3 separate regions of the Homo sapiens genome follow, and regions 1 and 3 are each linked to region 2. The links are contacts of gene promoters, found by promoter capture Hi-C in human tissues and cell types (Jung and others, 2019). All regions are on one chromosome and are shown on one strand. Each heading gives the region's core, a stretch centred on a gene start or on the middle of the fragment in contact. The rest is flanking DNA. Distances are from core to core; before and after follow the strand shown. Region 1 overlaps EBF3 (EBF transcription factor 3). Region 2 holds the start of GLRX3 (glutaredoxin 3). Region 3 has its middle 26 kb from the start of EBF3.

Evidence for each region. Contacts are between HindIII fragments. The study calls those that stand out against the background at their distance.
Region 1: a contact is called between a fragment that was not itself captured here and the fragment with the promoter of GLRX3 in region 2, in 1 of the 25 tissues and cell types used here (H1 embryonic stem cells).
Region 3: a fragment that was not itself captured here is called in contact with the fragment with the promoter of GLRX3 in region 2 in 1 of the 25 tissues and cell types used here (mesendoderm cells).

The regions. Positions count from the first base shown.
Region 1 is chr10:129,929,418-129,932,211 of GRCh38, reverse strand. The region is part of intron 6 of EBF3 (EBF transcription factor 3); the gene reads left to right. Among named protein-coding and RNA genes, the nearest start is that of EBF3, 33 kb to the left of the region's middle. The HindIII fragment of the contact is 4,939 bases long and covers 1-2,794 here.
Region 2 is chr10:130,135,076-130,137,775 of GRCh38, reverse strand. GLRX3 (glutaredoxin 3) reads right to left here and starts at 1,385. Exons shown (of 11, transcript NM_006541.5): 1 at 1,264-1,385. The coding sequence starts at 1,355. LOC105378561 (a long non-coding RNA gene) reads left to right here and starts at 1,405. Exons shown (of 6, transcript XR_001747659.2): 1 at 1,405-2,700. RefSeq lists enhancers at 1-275, 554-603 and a silencer at 804-1,403. The HindIII fragment of the contact is 8,385 bases long and covers 1-2,700 here.
Region 3 is chr10:129,988,517-129,991,216 of GRCh38, reverse strand. No RefSeq gene overlaps it. Among named protein-coding and RNA genes, the nearest start is that of EBF3, 26 kb to the right of the region's middle. The HindIII fragment of the contact is 5,652 bases long and covers 1-2,700 here.

The DNA of each region.
Region 1 (2,794 bases), core at 129-2,628, 210 kb after region 2:
AATAATACCTTCTTCCCAAGAGGTTGCTTAGAAAGTCAAATGACTTCCAGGTGTGGAGGGGGTGCTTCTACCCTGGCCGTGTGTGTAACTGCCTGCCAGAGTGGCCCGCTTTGTCCTTCATTGCCCTCACCTCTGCTCCTCTGGGAGAGATAAGGAGAGAGCGGACCAAGCCCTCTCTTCTTCCTCTGGCTGGCCTAGCTCTCCAGGGTGGCTGGACATAGCCTGTGGCCACAGAGAACCGCCAGGTTCAGAGGCTTGGTCACCTCTGAAAACATCTGCACATCTTGGGCCAGGAGTGTGTATGGAGACATTTGGGTACCAGGACCCCAGGGCACTCCAGATACCCAGCTAGGCCCTGTAGGGTCCCTCCTGCCTGGTCTACTGGGTTGGGAAGAATAGGACACAGGGTCGCTCAGGGAGCTTGAGGTCAGCAGGCATTGCTTCATGATAGCAACAGTTTAAGTTGAAATAACCAGTGGGCTCAAATTGGTGCTGTTACCAAGACCAATAGAGAAAGAATGAGAAGACTTCGTTTTATAAAATTCAGAGCATACTTCTGATTGTTGGCCTGTGTCAGGCATCAGGGCAGACATCAAGAGCAAGTTAGAATCAGACCATGGCCTTGCCCTCAGGGCGCTCACAGTCGCGGCCCCAGACAGGGAAGTCAACTGTTGGGGCTACTTGCTATATGTCATTTAAGGGCCCAGTTCTCAGAGATGACCTGAGTGCATTCATCACTTCTGGGGCATATTGTGTGTAATTCTGGAGTCCACTTTGGCCATCAGGATCCTCAGCGTGCATGGCAGAGTCTTGTTGCCACACTCAGGCTCTCTTCTTGATCTTGAGGGGATGGTACCAAGATGCACTTGGATCCCAGAAAAATGTTAGACCCCTTAAAGGGCTGTGTCTACAATGCACTTACACCAAAAAGTATCCCCAAGACATTGGGTTCTCAATTGCTTTTCTGCTTCTCTTTAAGTGCTATCCTGTCCAGGGCAAAAAAACCACAAACCCATAGGTATTAGTCAGAGTTTTCCAGAAAGACAGAACCAATAGGAGATATAGAGATAGATATAGACAGATACAGATATAGGTATATGAGAGGGGGATTTGTTAATATAGAGATAGATATAGACAGATATAGATACAGATATATGGGGGGATTTGTTAATATAGAGATAGATATAGACAGATATAGGTATATGAGAGGGGGATTTGTTAATGTAGAGATATAGATATATGAGAGGGGGATTTGTTAATATAAAGATAGATATAGATATATGAGAGGGGGATTTGTTAATATAGAGATAGATATAGACAGATATAGGTATATGAGAGGGGGATTTGTTAATATAGAGATAGATATAGACAGATACAGATATAGATATATGAGAGGGGGATTTGTTAATATAGAGATAGATATAGACAGGTATAGATATAGGTATATGAGAGGGGGATTTGTTAATATAGAGATAGATATAGACAGATACAGATATATGAGAGGGGGATTTGTTAATATAGAGATAGATATAGACAGGTATAGATATAGATATATGAGAGGGGGATTTGTTAATATAGAGATAGATATAGACAGATATAGATATAGATATATGAGAGGGGGATTTGTTAATATAGAGATAGATATAGACAGGTATAGATATAGGTATATGAGAGGGGGATTTGTTAATATAGAGATAGATATAGACAGATATAGATATATGAGAGGGGGATTTGTTAATATAGAGATAGACATAGACAGATATAGATACAGATATATGAGAGGGGGATTTGTTAGTATAGAGATAGATATAGACAGGTATAGATATAGGTATATGAGAGGGGGATTTGTTAATATAGAGATAGATATAGACAGATATAGATATAGATATATGAGAGGGGGATTTGTTAAGGGAATTGGCTCACAGGATTATGAGGCTGAGAAGTCCCATGACAGATTGCCTGCAAGCTGGAGACCCTGGGATGCTGGTATCACGGCTCAGGCCAAGTCTGAAGGCCTCAGAACTGTAGAAGTTGATGGTGTAATCCTCAATCTGAGGGCGAAGGCCTGAGCACCTACGGGACTGCTGGTGTGAATCCCAGAGTGCAAAGGCCTGGAGCCTGAAGTTCTGATGTCCAGGGACAGGGGAGGAAGAGTCCCAGCTCCGGCAGACAGAGGGAGACACTCACCTTTCCTCTGTTTTTGTTCTCTCCGGGCCCCTAACCAATGATGGCACCCACCCACATTGAGGGTGGACCTTCCCTACCCAGTGTGCTCCGACTCACACCCCAAGCTCCTCTGGAAACACCCTCACAGACACACCCAGAAATGATGTTTGACCAGTTCTCTAAGTATTCCTTAATCTAGTCATGTTGACACCTAAAACAAACATCACACCATAGTTCTGTGGTCTCTAATTTCTGTGGCAACTTAGTAACTCTCAGAGTTGGGTGCAGAACAATCACTTGTGTGTGCATTTTGAGGATGCCACCTTGATGGCACCATGGTGCTCTGTGGCCCTCTCTCGTGGACAAAGCATGGGGCTCCACGTCTGACATGGGGGCCTCCTTGGACTGGGTCTAGGGTCTGCCCATCCAGACGCATTACTGATTTGAATGTCCTTGCTCCAAATTCTATTTCCATCTTAATATCTATCAGCAGTGTGTCAACAAGGCTTTCCAAGGCATTATTAAGAAGGCCATCCTCCTGGCCGGGCATGGTGGCTCACGTCTGTAATTCTAGCACTTTGGGAGGCTGAGGTGGGCGGATTGCTTGAGCTCAGGAGTTTGAAACCAA
Region 2 (2,700 bases), core at 136-2,635:
GTGACAGAGCCAGACCCTGTCTCAAAAACAAAACAAAACAAAGCTTTTTGCCTGTGAATTCCATGAACCATTCTACTTCCTACTGAAATACTAAGTGCCAACATCTACTGAGTGCTTCCTGCATACTAGGCATTGTATTATTTGTATTTTACATACGTCATCTCATTTAACCCTCACAACAACCCTGAGGTACTAACAGGTGCTAATCTATGTCACCGTCGGGAAACTGAGGCTTGGGCATGAAACGTGCCCAGGGGTTACATGGCTACTGAGTGGCTGCGGTGGGACTGGATCCCAGGCAATCCGACATAAGAGTTCCCATAACAACCGCTAATAATACAACTAAGAGAACAACTCAGTCCTTGGAGTAGTCTACAATGTGAGGTGGTATTATCACGGAGAGTCCACGTGCAGACCTTTCCCTGCAGGCACGCACGCTAGTAAGCATTTACTCGTAAGCATGCTTGCAGTTCAGAGCTTCTAGTCCACCCAGAAAACGCTTTCTATGCATTCCTCTGGATCTCCTTTTGTAGTCTTCCCAGGGATTGAAGACCTGGACACCGGCGCCAAATCTGAACAGACTCTCACTACACCAGTTCATGGAACAGGAAATCTCTGTCTCCGGCAACAGGTTAAGTCTGAAGACTGAGGCTACCTGCTGTCCAACAAACTTTAAAGGCTGACTTCAAAAGGCAGCCAGGCCTAGCTAATGCAACGGGGCCTTCCCTCGCCGCTCTTCCTGCGACAGGGGCGTTCCTGAAGGGAGGCTGAAGAGCAATGGGCCGACGCCGAGCCTGCCGCTCCCTCCCGGCGGGCACAGGAAAGGTGGAGCCCGCAGCCGTGGGTCCCGCTCCGTGGCGCGGAGGGCCGGGGTCTCGGCGCCGCCCCGTCCCCCGCCCCGCCACTGCGGCACGGCTGAGTCACCACCGCCTCCGTCCCGCGGCGGGGCCGCCCAGGCCAGAGGCCGGGAAGGTCGCGTCCCCCGGGCTTGGACAGCCGTCGGGGTCGGAGCCAGGGCTGGGGCCGGGGCTTCCAGGCGAGCCTCGCGCCCTGCTCGCTGTTCCGGGGCGGGGAACCTGCGGCTCGGGCCACTCACGCGGAGGCTCGGGGGAGTCTACGGGTGGCGCCGGGCCCGGTCCCCCGAGGCCGAAGGGAGCCGGGCACCAAGAAGCCAGGCTGGGCCACCCGCCGCCCCACACCGGCCCGGTCTCGCGGCCGCTCCCGCTCCGGCTCCTCACTCCTACCGCTCGCCGCCCCGCTTACTTGGCTTTGAGGCGCAGCAGCTCCTCAAACTGCCCGGCTGAGCCGACCTCCTCCACGGCCGCTACAGCTGCCTCAGCCGCCCCCGCCGCCATGCTGCCGCCGCCAGACAGAAGCAATCCAGTGCCGGCGGCCGGATGTGGGCGGGGCCACGGGGAGCTGAGCGGCTGCGCGAGGGAAAGCCCCGCCCCTGCCTGCGCTGAGGCTGCCGAGCCTGAGAAATCCCAAAAGGGGCCTCGGCGGCGGGCTCTGGATCCCGCTGGGGGGCTCTGACCCTGCCAAGTCTGGGCACTCCGCTGCGGGCCTCCTGGCTCCCGGGGTTCATGGCTGTTATGGTTCCTGGCTGTCGGGGCTCCTGGCTTTCGGGGCTCCCTGGCTGAAGGGGCTCCTGGCTGTAGGGGCTCCTGGCTATGGAGGTTCCCGGTTATAAGGGCTTCTGGATGTAGTGGATTCTGGCCGTCGAGGTCCCTGGCTGTCGGGGCTCCTGGCCGTAATGGCCCCTGGCTGTCGGGACCCCTGGGTGTCGGGGTTCCTGGCTGTCGGGACCCCTGGGTGTCGGGGTTCCTGACTGTAGGGGCTCCTGGGTGTTAGGGTTCCTGGCTATAGCAGGGGCTCCTGGGTGTCGGGGTTCCTTGCTGTCAGGGCTCCTGGTGGTAGAGGCTTCTTGCTGTTGGCTTCCTGGCTGTCGGGGTGACTGGGTGTCAGGGCTCCTGGTGTTAGGGTTCCTGGCTTCCTGGCTGTAGTAGGGGCTCCTGGGTGTCGGGGTTCCTTGCTGTCAGGGCTCCTGGTGGTAGAGGCTTCTGGCTGTTGGGGTTCCTGGGTGCCAGGGCTCCTGGGTGTCAGGGTTCCTGGCTGTCAGGACACCTGACTCCTGAGGCTCCTGGCTTTTGGGGCTCCAGACCTTCCTTGCACTTCCTGTGTCTCCTGGGTCTGTAATAGAAGGGGCCGGTGGAGGGGTGGGGGTGAGACATGTGAGTGAAAGTGAAGTCAGATGTGTACATTTAGGAAGCTGAAATTATCAAAAATGAAATTGCATAAAGGTGAGGAAGAACTGGGAGGTCTGGGAACAGAAGTGGTAGATCTTGAACTTCAACACAGACAGGGTGCTTCCAATTCAGTCCTGGGACCTGAACCCGGAGCCCACAGCATGTCCCTCCTCCCCTGGCCCTCCGCGCGTGCCGCCACTCATTGCAGCCCCACAGAGCCATCACCCATTGTAACCTCAGAACAGAAGGGGCTGGGTGGGTCCACAGATCCCTGCACTCCTCCCGTCTTGCCTCCTTGGATGATCCCTGGCTTGTCTTTCTCCCTTGGGAATCCCCCTGATGTTGGCTCTCCATGTGGTGTACTCTGTACCCCACACCCCATGCTTCCCACACACCTTCTGGCCTGAGTAATCTCCATGCCCCCAGTGACATCAACCTCCAGGGAAACCTCAAT
Region 3 (2,700 bases), core at 129-2,628, 150 kb after region 2:
AAGACTAATTTATCAATTTTTCCTTATGCAGATTGTGGTTTTGTGTCAAGTCAAGAACTCTTTGACTAGCCCCAGGTACTCAAGATTTTCCCCTATTTTGAATTAGTTTTTGTATAAGGTGTTACACTTAGGTTAATGTTCATGTTTTTATCTATGAATGTCCATTTGATCTGGCATCTTTTCAAATGTATGCATTGCATTTAGTACTATAAATTTTCCTCTCCACACAGCTTTAGCTGTATCCTAGAAATTTTGATATGTCATATTTTCATCTTCATTCAGTTGAATGCATTTGTTTTTTATTTCCTTCAAGATCTCCTCTTTGACTCATGGACTTAGTAGAAATACCTTGTATAGCCAGGTGGGGTGGCTCATGCCTGTAATCCCAGCATTTTGGGAGGACAAGGCGGGCGGATCACCCGAGGTCAGGAGTTTGAGACCAGCCTGGCCAACATGGTGAAACTCCGTCTCTACTAAAAATACAAAAATTAGCTGGGCGTGGTGGTGGGCACCTATAATCCTAGATACTAGGGGGGCTGAGGCAGGAGAATTGCTTGAACCCAGGAGGCGGAGGTTGCAGTGAGCTGAGATTGCGCCACCGCACTCCAGCCTAGGTGACGGAGCAAGACCCCGTCTCGGAGGGAAAAAAAGTACCTTGTGTAGTTTCCAAGTATTTGAAGATTTTTCTGCCATTAAATATGATTTTGATTTTGTTGTGATCCTAGAAGACACTTTGTATGATTTTGATTCTTTTAAATTTGTTGAGGTCTGTTTTATGGCATAGGTTATTTGGTCTAGATTGATATATGTTCAATAGATATTTAAAAACAATATATAGAATGCTCTTGTTGAGTGAAATGTTTTATAAATGTCCTCTAGACTCTAACTGGATCAAATTCTGTTGATGGTGTGGTTGAATTCTTCTTTCTCTTAGCTGATTTTCTGTATAATCATTCCATCAATTGTTGAGAGTGGGGTGTCAAAATCTCCTAATATAACTGTAGATTTGTCTAATTATCTTTTTATTTCTATCGGTTTTTGCTTCACAATTTTCAGCTCTGTCTTTTAGTATAAACACATCTAGCATTGCTATTTCTTCCTTGTAGATTGACCCTTTTATCTTTATATAATGTCTCTCATCTCTGGTAATTTTCTTTGCTCTGAAGCCTACTTTTTCTGATATTAATATAACCAATTTTGCTTTCTGTTTTTAAATTATTATTATTTATTATTATTTTTTATTTCCATGGGTTTTTGGGGAACAGGTGGTGTTTGGTTACCTGAATAAGTTCTTTAGTGGTGATTTCTGAGATTTTGGTGCACCCATCATCTGAGCAATGTACACTGTAACAAACGTGTAGTCTTTTATCCCTCACCTGACTCCCACCATTTCCTCTGAGTCCCCAAAGTCCATTGTATTATTCTTACGCCTTTGTATCCTCATAGCTTAGCTCCCACCTATGAGTGAGAACATACAGTGTTTGGTTTTCCATTACTGAGTTACTTCACTTAGAAAAAATGGTCTCCAATTCTATCCAGATTGCTGCAAATGCCATTATTGTGTTCCTTCTTATGGCTGAGTAGTATTCCATGGTGTGTGCGTGTGTGTGTGTGTGTGTGTGTGTGTGTATCACAATTTTTTATGCACTCATTGATTGGTGGGCCTTTGGGCTGGTTCCATATTTTTGCAATTGTGAATTGTGCTGCTATAAACATGCATGTGCAAGTATCTTTTTTGTATAATAACTTCTTTTCCTGTGGGTAGATACCCAGTAGTGGGATTGCTGATCAAATGGTAGTTCTACTTTTAGTTATTTAAGGCATCTCCACACTATTTTCCATAGTGGTTGTACTAGTTTACATTCCCACCAGGAGTGTAAAAGTGTTTCCTTTTCACCACATCCCCACCAATATCTATTTTATTTTATTTTATTTTTTTATTATGGTCATTCTTGCAGGAGTAAGGTGGTATCACATTGTGGTTTTGATTTGCATTTCCCTGATCATTAGTGATGTTGAGCATTTTTTCATATGCTTGTTGGCCATTTGTATATCTTCTTTTGAAAATTGTCTATTCATGTATTTAGCCCACTTTTTGATGGGACTGTTTGTTTTTCTTGCTAATTTGTTTGAGTTTCTTGAAGATTTTGGATATTAGTTATTTGTTGGATGTATAGATTGTGAAGATTTTCTCCCACTCTGTGGGTTGTCTGTTTACTCTGCTGATTTTTTTTTCTGTGCAGAAGCTTTATCTTTTAATTAAATACCATCTCTTATGTTTGTTTTTGTTGCACCTGCTTTTGGATTCTTGGTCAGGAAGTCTTTGCCCAAGTCAATGTCTAGAAGGGTTTTTCTGATGTTATTTTCTAGAATTTTTATGGTTTCAGAACTTAGATTTAAGTCTTTGATCCATCTTGAGCTGATTTTTGTATAAGGTGAGAGATGAGGATTCAGTTTCATTCTTCTACATGTGACTTGCCAATTATCCCAGCACCATTTGTTGAATAGAGTGTCCATTCCCCACTTTTGTTTTTGTTTGCTTTGTTGAAGATTAGCTGTAAATACTTGGCTTTATTTCTGGGTTCTCTATTCTGTTCCACTGGTCTATGTGACTATTTTTATACCAGTACCATGCTGTTTTGGTGACTATGGCCTTATAGTATAGTTTGAGGTCAGGTAATGTGATGCCTCTGGATTTGT